2 separate regions of the Homo sapiens genome follow, and region 2 is linked to region 1. Evidence: promoter capture Hi-C in 16 types of primary human blood cells and fetal thymus (Javierre and others, 2016). All regions are on one chromosome and are shown on one strand. Each heading gives the region's core, a stretch centred on a gene start or on the middle of the fragment in contact. The rest is flanking DNA. Distances are from core to core; before and after follow the strand shown. Region 1 holds the start of TADA3 (transcriptional adaptor 3). Region 2 holds the start of RAD18 (RAD18 E3 ubiquitin protein ligase).

What was found. The method cuts DNA at HindIII sites, captures the fragments that hold promoters and counts their contacts. A CHiCAGO score of 5 or more calls a contact.
Region 2: a fragment that was not itself captured here is called in contact with the fragment with the promoter of TADA3 in region 1 in 4 of 17 cell types (fetal thymus, total CD8 T cells, naive CD4 T cells and 1 more); the score reaches 6.4 in fetal thymus.

What each region holds. Positions count from the first base shown.
Region 1 is chr3:9,790,927-9,796,974 of GRCh38, reverse strand. TADA3 (transcriptional adaptor 3) reads left to right here and starts at 4,502. Exons shown (of 9, transcript NM_006354.5): 1 at 4,502-4,759; 2 at 5,482-5,715. The coding sequence starts at 5,509. ARPC4-TTLL3 (ARPC4-TTLL3 readthrough) reads right to left here and starts at 4,427. Exons shown (of 12, transcript NM_001198793.1): 1 at 3,851-4,427. The coding sequence starts at 3,853. It overlaps ARPC4 (actin related protein 2/3 complex subunit 4), which reads right to left and starts at 3,893. Exons shown (of 6, transcript NM_005718.5): 1 at 3,851-3,893. The coding sequence starts at 3,853. It also overlaps a transcript of OGG1 not described here. RefSeq lists enhancers at 3,228-3,317, 3,517-4,043, 4,018-4,117, 4,044-4,570, 5,675-6,048 and silencers at 4,248-4,537, 4,598-4,687. The HindIII fragment of the contact is 10,858 bases long and covers 1-5,922 here.
Region 2 is chr3:8,958,900-8,963,725 of GRCh38, reverse strand. It overlaps RAD18 (RAD18 E3 ubiquitin protein ligase), which reads left to right and starts at 254. Exons shown (of 13, transcript NM_020165.4): 1 at 254-391; 2 at 4,725-4,806. The coding sequence starts at 341. RefSeq lists an enhancer at 237-406. The HindIII fragment of the contact is 1,072 bases long and covers 715-1,786 here.

The DNA.
Region 1 (6,048 bases), core at 3,253-5,752:
AGAATAAGGACATTCTTTTTTTTTTTTTTTTTTTGAGACAGAGTCTCGCTCTGTTGCCCAGGCTGGAGCGCGGTGGCACGATCTCGGCTCACTGCAAGCTCCACCTCCCGGGTTCATGCCCTTCTCCTGCCTCAGCCTCCCAAGTAGCTGGGACTACAGGCGCCCACCACCACACCCGGCTAACTTTTTGTATTTTTAGTAGAGACAGGGTTTCACGGTGTTAGCCAGGATGGTCTCAATCTCCTGACCTTGTAATCTGCCCGCCTTGGCCTCCCAAAGTGCTGGGTTTACAGGCGTGAGCCACCACACCCTGCCAGAATAAGGACATTCTTAGGAGAGGGATTAGCTTCTAGCTGCACTGGTCAGTCCTTGTATCAGCCAAATTCTTTCCCACCTCAGAGCTTTACACATGCTTGACCATCTATCTGTAGGCTTTTCTCCTCTTTCTTTGCCTAAGTCATCCTCCAGATCTCAGCTTAATTAAGGAAGGCCTCTTGAGAGAGACCTTGACATCCCCCTATAAAGTATTTATTACAATTGACAAAAAAATGTCTTTCATGTCTTCTTAATATTTATTTTTGAGAGGGAGTCTCGCTTCTGTCACCCTCGCTGGAGTGCAGTGGCACGATCTCTGCTCACGGCAATCGCCGCCTCCTGGGTTAAAGCGATTCTCCTGCTTCAGCCTCCCGAGTAGCTGGGATTACAGGCGCACATCACCATGCCTGGCTAATTTTTGTATTTTTAGTAGAGACGGAGTTTCACCGTGTTGGTCAGGCTTGTCTTGAAATCCTGACCTCAGGCAATCCGCCCACCTCGGCCTCTCAAAGTGTTGGGATTACAGGCGTGAGCCAACGTGCCTGGCCTTTTTTATTTTTTTTTGAGACAGAGTCTTACTCTGTTGTCCAGGCTGGAGCGCAGTGGTGCAATCTTGGCTCACTGCAACCTCCACCTCCCGGGTTCAAGTGATTCACCTGCCTCAGCCATGCGAATAGCTGAGATGACAAGTGTGCACCACCGTGCCTGGTTAATTTTTGTATTTTTAGTAGAGATGGGGTTTCGCCATGTTGGCCAGGCTGGTCTCAAACTCCTGACCTCAAGTGACCCGCCCATCTCGGCCTCCTAAAGTGCTGGGATTACAGACATGAACCACTGCACCTGCCCTCCTTCATGCCTTTGTAAGTGATTTCTCCTTTACTAGGCTGTAAACCTCATGGTCAACAGACCATATCTATTTTATTCACAGCTATATAGCCTCCAACCTAGCTCAGTACCTAACATATACAGTGTCTCACTCATTTCCTGTAGAATAAATAAGCGAAAGAAATAATTAAGATTAGAGTAACACAAAAGGACAGCAAGAGTTCCAGAGTAGTAATGAGTACAATGTTTCTGTATATGAGAAGCATTTTAGATTCACTAAATGAGGCTGCAGCGGTAGGCTGAGGTAAGATCATGGGGAATCTTGAATGCCAGGCTACCAAGTTTAGCTTTTCTCTTAAGGGGGTAAGGAACTACTGGGGCTTTCTGAGGAGGAAGTTCATGACTGCAGCTGCATGATGGCTCTGTGGAGAATGATTTGGAGAGGGAAGTGAGACATACAGCAGACTGTATCACAAGCAAAGAGTATCACAAGCGTTGGACTGACATTAGATGGAGTGGATAATGGAACTGAAAAAAAACTTCCCAGGGGCTCACGCCTGTAATCCCGGCACTTTGGGAGGCCGAGGTGGGTGGACCACCTCAGGTCAGGAGTTCAAGACCAGCCTGGCCAACATGGCAAAACCCCGTCTCTACTAAAAATACAAAAAATTAGCTGTGGCGGGTGCCTGTAATCTCAGCTACTTGAGAGGCTGAGGCAGTAGAATTGCTTGAACCCAGGAGACTGAGGTTGCAGTGAGCCGAGATCACGCCACTGTGCTCCAGCCTGGGTGACAGAGCGAGACTGTGTCTTAAAAAAAAAGAAAAAGAAAAACCACTTCCAACGAACTGTGGTCCAGCCATTCAATTAACTACTACTTGGTAATAAAAAAAGAGTAACTATTGATACACACAACATGGTTGACTCTCAAATGTATTATGGTAAGAAGCCACACTTAAAAGCCTGCATACTAAAGAATTCCATTTACATGACAATCTGAAAAAGGCAAAACTACAGGGGGGAAAAATCAGTAGTTGTCTGGGGTGGGAAGGAGAGGACTGATTACAAAAGGGCTTGAGGGAACTTTTTGGGGTGACGGAAATGTTCTGTATTTTGGTTGCAGTAGTGGTTACACAACTTGACTTTTTTTTTTTAAGACACGGGATCTTGCTATATTGTCCAGGCTGAAGTGCAGTGGCTATTCACAGGAGTGATCACAGTGTACTACGGCCTCGAACTTCTGGGCTCAAGTGATCCTCCTGCCTCAGTGTCCTGAGCGGATGGTACTACAGGCGCATGCCACCATACCCAGCAAGTTTTTGCAACGCTTTTTTTTTTGAGACGGAGTCTTACTCTGTTGCCCAGTCTGGTGTGCAGTGGCACGATCTCGACTCACTGCAAGCTCTGCTTTCTGGGTTCACGCCATTCTCCTGCCTCAGCCTCCTGAGTAGCTGGGACTACAGGTGCCCACCACCACGCCCGGCTAATTTTTTGCATTTTTAGTAGAGAAGAGGTTTCACCGTGTTAGCCAGGATGGTCTCGATCTCCTGACGTCGTGATCCGCCCGCCTCTGCCTCCCAAAGTGCTGGGATTACAAGCGTGAGCCACCACGCCTGGCCTTTGTCAACAGTTATAGAAAGTAAACCTAAAAAGGGTGACTGGCTCCGTGACGCCTGTCCTTTCATGAATAAAACAGATGTAGTCTCATGTAATACCTCAATAAACTTGAACTTTTAAAAATCAAGAGGCATGTGCCCCACTAGAAAAAAAAAATACAGATTTTTAGCAGAGACATGAGGTCACAAAAGTTTGCCAGGATAGGGAACCCAGGAGGAAGAACAAATTTAGAATAGAATATGAGTTTTGAACTAGAGGTCTAATTTCAAGGTCTCTTCAAGATATCCAGGCAAACCTTGAAAGAGAGCTGAGAAGCCAGATTAGGAGTCATCAGAATGAAGAAAGTTATCGAAGCCAGGAGACTAGATCGGTATCACCAGGGAAGGTGTGACGAAGAGGGAGATGGTCATCCAAAGTCACAACTCCCAGGAATGCCCACACGTATGAAAAAGGCCCACATGTATGAAAAAGGCCCACATGTATGAAAAAGGGAGGACTTCCAGGAAGGGAGGGATGAGCAGTATCACAGCTAACATACACTAAGGCTGACACAGTTCAGTTCTGACCAGGAAGGGCCTGAATGGAAGCAACACGAGAGATCCTCCAATGGGGTGGAAGCAGGGCTGGAGGTACCAAGAATGGGATAAGGAAGTGTGGCCGCCTGCCTTAAGCAACTGTAGGGTCAGGAAGGCAGAAGAGGACAAAGGGCGTATGTCGTGAAGTTCCACTGTGGATAGGCAGGTGGACTTGCTTCATGCCTCAGAGGCTAAGAGGCCGACTACGTACCCTCGAAATGCTCCAAAGAGCCTAGGAGACCCCACTTCCGGGTTCCTACAGGGCTCAGGAAAAGCCCCTACCTGCTTCGAAGGCTGACCGTGAAGCCACAAGGCCCACTTCATACCAGGGAGTACCCCCACTCGCCCCTTCCTCACCTCGGGCCCCCGCCCCGTCTCTTTTTCCCACCCTCATCGTGTCCCCACAACCCCCGGACATCCCTCGGCCCCGCGCCCCTGCGGCAAAGCCACATCTCCCACCGACCCACTGCCCTGAGGCCGAACAGCCGGGGGTCCCTGGCCGGGGGCCCGGCTCTCTCACCATCGCGGGCGCTGGCTGGGCCGGAAAGCGGAAGTACGGAAGTGGCCAGCCCCGCGATGCCTGCCCTTTCGCGAGAAGCGCAGCTACGGTCTCCGCCCGGACTTCCGGACGGTACCATCTATGCTCCGAGCGGGGTAGAGAGCCCTTACGAACGCTTGGGCCTTCCGGAAGTTTTCCACCTAGGGCTGTCTCGGTATTTTTAAATTCTTGCACTCGAGTCACTATTTAAGCTCCTCCAGGAATGGGTGCAGCTTCCCTTTGTGCCTTCGGCCTTCTTGTCACCTTTGCCACAGCCTCCCCCAGGTATGCAATGGTACAGCCCAGCTTCAGATTGGGCACCAAATTAGGACAAGCCGAAGCGGACGAGCCCTTCGTTTCTTCCGGTTCTGTACCCCCATCCTTTCTCTCGCCCCTCCTACCCGCAGCTCCTGGCGCTCGGCGGGGCTAACTGCAGCGCGGAGATCTCGGCCGCCAAGCTCCGCCTCCCGCCCCGGGCTGTGCCCCGGGGCTCGCCTGAGGCCGACCACCCGCACCCCACCTCTAGCGGCTTTGCTCGAGGCCCACCTTCTTCCCACCCCCGGCAAACTCCAGTAGGCTCGCCCTCGCTGACTCCCCGCCCCCGCGTCAACTGCAAGGGGCCCGCCCATAGCCAGTTCCGGGGCGGTTGCTCACATCGACCGGAACTCCCCGCCCCCTCCCGCGGCCCCTGGGGCCGTAGGAGGCCGCAGCGAGGAGGTAGAGGGGGCGGGGGTCGCACTAGGGTGTCCCTAGAGAACGAGGACTCTGAAGGCGGGACATTTGGGCGACCCCCGGGCGGGGCCAGCCATTAAACAGTCCCACTTCTGTGCCAGACACTGAACTGGGCTCTTGACGGGCATCATCTCTTAATCCTCAGAACATCCCAGGGAGGTAGGTACTATTGTTATCCCCATTTTTCAGATTCAGACTTTTAATGGGGAAACAGACCGAGACTTCTTTTGTCCCCATTTTACAGATGGAAAAACTGAGACTGAAAAAGGTCAAATAACATGTTCAGGGGCATATAAGTAGAGAATGGTAAAGCCTGGGCTTGAACCCAGGTCTGTCTGGCTTACCAGCCCACGTTCTAAACCACTGTTAGTGACTAGAGAAGGGAGAAAGGTGGAATAGGGTAAGAAAAGAGGCCAAGAGTCCCAGAGAACATGGTAAGAATGGGGTGCTTGGAACTCAAAGTCTTAGCAGAACCCAAGAGAAATAGAAGGGAAGGAAAGAGCATCAGAAAGGCGAGGCAAGGCATAGCAGTATAGCATGGTGATCAGGGTGCAGACTCAAGACTAGCGGGGTTCAAATTGCATCTTGGAAGCATAGGCACATACCCACCCTTACAGAGTCTCAGTTTCTTTCTCTGTAAAAACGAGATCACAATGGTCCTTGTTCATGGTGCTGAGTGAGAAATTCAGTGAGATAAACTGATAAAGTGCTCTGCACCTAGCTTGGTACCCAGTTAAGTGCCCTGTGAGTAGGAACTGTGCCATCAATTTTGTCAGTAAGGGACTGAAGCTGGGCTTCCTTGAGGCTGTCCCTGGAGGTAAGAAGCCCTTGGGCTTTTCTCAGACCACTTTGTCTCCCATCAATGGCCCTGTCCTCTCCAGCTCCACAGGATCCCCATATCCTGGGCCATGAGTGAGTTGAAAGACTGCCCCTTGCAGTTCCACGACTTCAAGTCTGTGGATCACCTGAAGGTCTGTCCCCGCTACACGGCAGTGCTGGCACGCTCTGAGGATGATGGCATCGGCATCGAGGAGCTGGACACCCTGCAGCTGGAGCTGGAGACCCTGCTGTCTTCTGCCAGCCGGCGCCTGCGTGTGCTTGAGGCCGAAACCCAGGTGATAACCCCAGAGAGGGGCCAGCACCAGAGATGGACTGCAACAAGTTATGGGATGGGTCATTGAGTTAGCCCCATATGCTGAGACTTGGGGTACAGGGGTTTGTGGGGAGAGGGAGAGAGACGCAAACTGGGTTTGCATGACACAAAAAATACACAAGAATATGCATGATCCTCTTAAATTGCAAGATTTCTAATTCAGTAAGCTTTTATTGGCACCCCACTCATCCCCCATTGTGTTCTGGGTCCTATGCTAGTCATTAGAGAAAGGTAATTAGGACAGTTATGGCTGTCAGGGAGCTTGGCAACTAGGAAAGTGAGAAAGTCAAGTACA
Region 2 (4,826 bases), core at 1-2,500, 830 kb after region 1:
GGGCGACCCGGAGGGGGGTCATGAGCCTGGACCTTGACAGATCTGGTGAGGTCTGGATTTGGTTTGATTCCTGGCTATCTTTTCTTAATATTCAACTGGCTCTACGCTTTTTAACCATTCACTTTCTTCAAGGTAAGTGCGGCAGAAGCCTGGCGCATGCGCAGTACAAGCCCTTAAGCGGCGCCCCGCCCACATACTACTACAACTTCCGGCAGGCTCCGCGCCCGCCTCTGGCGCGTCGCGGGCTGCTGACGTAATGCGGTAGCGCGGGGAATTTCGAGTGGTGTTGGAGCGCCGGAGGCTAGTGGGTGGCTGACCCCCAGCATCCTCGGGAGCGACCATGGACTCCCTGGCCGAGTCTCGGTGGCCTCCGGGCCTGGCAGTCATGAAGGTGAGTGCTTCGGGGAGTTTGGGAGCTCCCGGGTGTCTGCGGGGGGAGGTCCCTCCCTTTGAGGAGGATGTCCTCGCCTTAAGGAGAAAGGATGAGGCGCGAGCGTCGCACTGGGCCCGGGTATCCGGCTCTGCCCTGCCACTAGCCGACCGCGTGGCTCTGGGTCTCAGTTTACTCCTCTGATAAGTGACAAGGACAAGCCTGGTGAGCTGAGGTTGGCAGTCTTATGGCACCAGCTATTCTGCGATCCAATCCCAACAATAACATGGAGAAAAACAGTTATTCCAAACAATGACATCGACAGCTGTTCTTTACTGAAAGCTTACTTTGTGTCAAGCACTAAACAGTGACACCGGACATGATTTTGGGTGGACACTTTATCAGATAACATGTATGTAATCACGTAGCCAAGCAGGTAGTCTCCTTTACAGGCTCTTTCATTTCTTCTGATTATTCTCAATAAACGTAGTGCTCGTTTGTTCTGACATACTGCCCCAACTCCTCTCTAACACACCTTCACTCTTCTCTAACAATTGCTCATGTCTCTTAAACAGAGATCAGGACTCAGGCTCAGCGCTGATCTTGCATTGCGTCTGATTATTTCACTTAAATAACATTTATTTTTGTGGCCACTTTCTGTTTTGGCAAGGCATACCAGTTTCCATTTACAGTAGTGGTGGGCCCTGGATTTGCTCAAGAGCAGATGCACTTTGCTGTGCTGGATAAAGATCAGTTGCTTGGTGTTTCTTCTTGCTCTGTGATTATTTCCGTTTCTCACAGTGGCTAAGATAGCCTTCTTCTCCCTCAGTTTTGTAGACTTGGGGATTATAATACCTGTCCCACTGACTCATAAATTTGACTTTAGAATTAAGTGAAGGCTAAAGTAAGTAGAAGGCCTTGTTCTTCCTGCTGTCATCAGTGACGTCTAGAGTGCTTGGGGACTTGAGATATCTGCATGATGAGAAGCTGACATTGTGAAATGATCCAGGAAAGCTGTAGTTTTGGAGTTGTGGGCTTGGCACCAGGATGCAGTGGAGAAGAGCACAGATTTGAGTTCCAGTGGTCCTGGGTGAAATCTCCTGTCTGCCTCTTGACTGTATGACCTTCGGTTAGTAACTTAACCTCTCTGAGCCTGAATTTCTTCAACTATAAATTAGAGACAAAAATAACAGTTCATAGGATTGATTAAATAAATTAGTTGATGTATGTGGGCACAGATTCTGCTGTGTATTCACTGTGCTTACTGCAGTGCCTGACACCAAGTGGGTGCTCAAATATTATTTGCTGCTTGATTGAAAGTATCTGGAATGTAGTAAGCATTCAATGAATATATTTTATTATTATTAGCACTGTGTTAAGTGCTTCTTTCCCCTTTTAATTTGTTGTCATGAAGCTTGACTTGGATAAGGAAAGTAAAAGAGCTCTGTAACCTGTAAAGCTCCTGCTTTGTAGATTTAAGCACACTTTACATATTCCCACAATTTCAGTGTTCTTTAGAGGCGGGTTCCATGTCTTCTCTGACTTTGGTATCTCACCACAGCACTGAATGTAGAGTTTGGCACCACAGAGCGTTCAGTGAGTGTTCAACCAGAGAGTTGATTGAGCCCGTATTTTTTTGCTCACATTGGAATCATGGAATCTTAAGGTTAGAAAACCAGCCCCTTTCAGTATTTTAATCTCCTTTATAACACATCTGCCAATTTCTCACCTAATTTTTGCTTGAACTCTTCCAGGCACAAAGAACTATCAGATCCCAGAAGCAGATCTGACTGAAGTTACTTCTTTTATTGAATAGAAGTCTGACTCAGAATCCATGGTTGCTAACTTAGGATTCACAGAAAGACTTTGGAGTCTCAAGTTATTTGTAAAATTTTTGCATGTATGTTTTTCTGAGCAGAGAGTCCATAGTTGTCATCCATTTTTCAAAGGGATCTGTAACCCCAAAAACTTAAGAGTATTTTTGTAATTATTACGTTTTTCCACCCATTTTCTACTTCTCCCTTTCACTTTCTCTCTCTCTAAACTAAAGAAATTTTGGGGAGTCTGCTGACCACTCTCTATTCAGGCATCATTTTTTGTTTAGTTGGTTGAGGCGCATGTGATATGCATGTTACTGTCTTGGAGTGACATGACAAGAAATTTGAACCAGAAATGGCTCATCTGATGTAGTGTCAACTTCCACAATTGTGCTCTGCAGATCTTTCAGAATCATTCCTCCACCAGAAGAGGATGGCATAGATAAGAAAGTGTGATATAATAGACTGGTTCTGGCTTCTGGGCCTGCCTCTGCTCTTAATTGATCTTGAACATAACCCTTTAGATTTTTGTGTCTGTGACAGCTTACCATCCACAATAATGGAAGATTTTGGCATTTTATTATTTCCCTGGTTTTACTTTAACAAAAATTTACTGTTTTTGGCATATTGTAAATGTAATATGTGTACACGGTAGAAAAAAATTAAAATTCAGAATAAGATAAAGGAGAAAAATAAAACCATCCATAATTCTACCACCCAGAGAACCAGTGTTTAACATTTTACCTTATTTTCCTTTGGTTTTTGTGCATTTAAAATTTGGGATCACTGTGGAGTCAACTTCTTGGGTTTGATCCAGCCAACTTAGGAACTCTGTAGACTTTATTTTTAAAATTGGGATACTGATGCTGTGGACTTCATAAGATTGCTATGAAGATTAAACTACAGAGTTGTTATTATTATGTATTATTGGCATAGGTTTGTTTTCTGATTTTTATTTTCCTAGGGCATTAATTATTCTTTGAAAGCATGTTTTTTAATGGCTGCATAATATTTCATCATATGGACCATTAGCGACATTAGTCCTTTTTTGTTTACATTTTTAAAATTCAGGTAATAGGTTCACATGGTTCAAAATACACATAAAATAAAAAGTAAAAGTCTCCTTCTTACCATGTTCCTGGCCCTGATCATTATTTATGACTTCTTGTTTATCTTCTCATTATTTACATTTACAATGAAAATAGAATGCATTCTTTTTTCCTTTTTTTCTTTTTTGAGATAGGGTCTCACTGTCGCCCAGACTGGAATGCAGTGGCAATCACGGCTCACTGCAGCCTTGAACTCCTGGGCTAAAGCAATCCTTCCGCCTCAGCCTCCTGAGTAGCTGGGACTACAGGCATGCGCCACTACTCCCAACGAATTTTTAAATTTTTTATAGACATGGATTTTTGTTATTTTGCCAGGCTGGTCTCAAACTCCTGGACTCAAGCAGTTCTCCTGCCTTGGCCTCCCAAAGTGCTAGGATTACAGAGCCACCATGCTAGGCCTATTAGAATACATTCTTACTCACCTCTTCCTTTTAAACAAACCGTAGCATAGTATATGTACTGTCTATACCTTATTTCCTTTTTTCACTTATCTTGGCAATCTTTTCATATCAGTATGATGGAGAGCTTCCTCTTTTTTTTTTTTTTTTTTGAGACAGTTTCACTCGGTCATGCAGGCTGGAGTATAGTGGTGCGATGTGGGCTCACTGCAACCTACGCCTCCTGGACTCAAGCGATCCTCCCGTCGAGAGCTTCCTCCTTTTAAAAAATATTTCTGTTGAATGGAATAATATTTTATTTTAAACAATTTGAAAGATTTTAGGTTGCCAGAGTAGTTCCGTTCCTGTTTGGATTGCATTCCAGGTTGGCACACATCTCTCTTTCCAAGTTGTCCACTTTCCCTTCCTCTGCTTTCACTGCCCCAGCTCTTTCCAGGCTTCCTCATTTGGCTGCATGTGTAGTACCATGCCGAAAGCACTGGACTGCCAGACGGGAGACAGGAATTTTGGTCTTGGCTTGACTGATGCCTACTATTGTGTGCCTGCTTTTGATACCAGTTTCCTCTTTTGACTAGACAGTTTCTGGAGTTTGGCTTTAACATTCTTTGATTTGATTCTTAACTTGTGTGGTGGCAATGGCCACCTTTCACCCAATAGTGACTATAGGCTAGGTGTTGGAGTCTGAAGAGGAGGAGGCTTGGAGTAAGAGCTGGAAGCGCATTAGAAGTGGAACAGAAGTACAGTAGCCCTTATGTGAAGGGATGACAATATGGCACAAGAATCGGTGTGCCATCATCTTTAGCTGTCTAAAGCAATTTGGGCAACCTGAGACTGAATGTATAAGAGTCATATGAGAGAAGTTTTTATTTATTTGTCAAGATCCCTTGCAGTTTATCTGGAGTTAGCTTTTGAATTTGTGTATTTGACAAAGAGTTTGATTTTTTTTTTAGGGGATAGAGAAAAAGTTTTGTGACAGGACTTCCAATTTTGATGTCTTTCTGATATGTATATATGCATATTTGCATTTCAGACAATAGATGATTTGCTGCGGTGTGGAATTTGCTTCGAGTATTTCAACATTGCAATGATAATACCTCAGTGTTCACATAACTGTAAGTATGTTTTGTTCCTG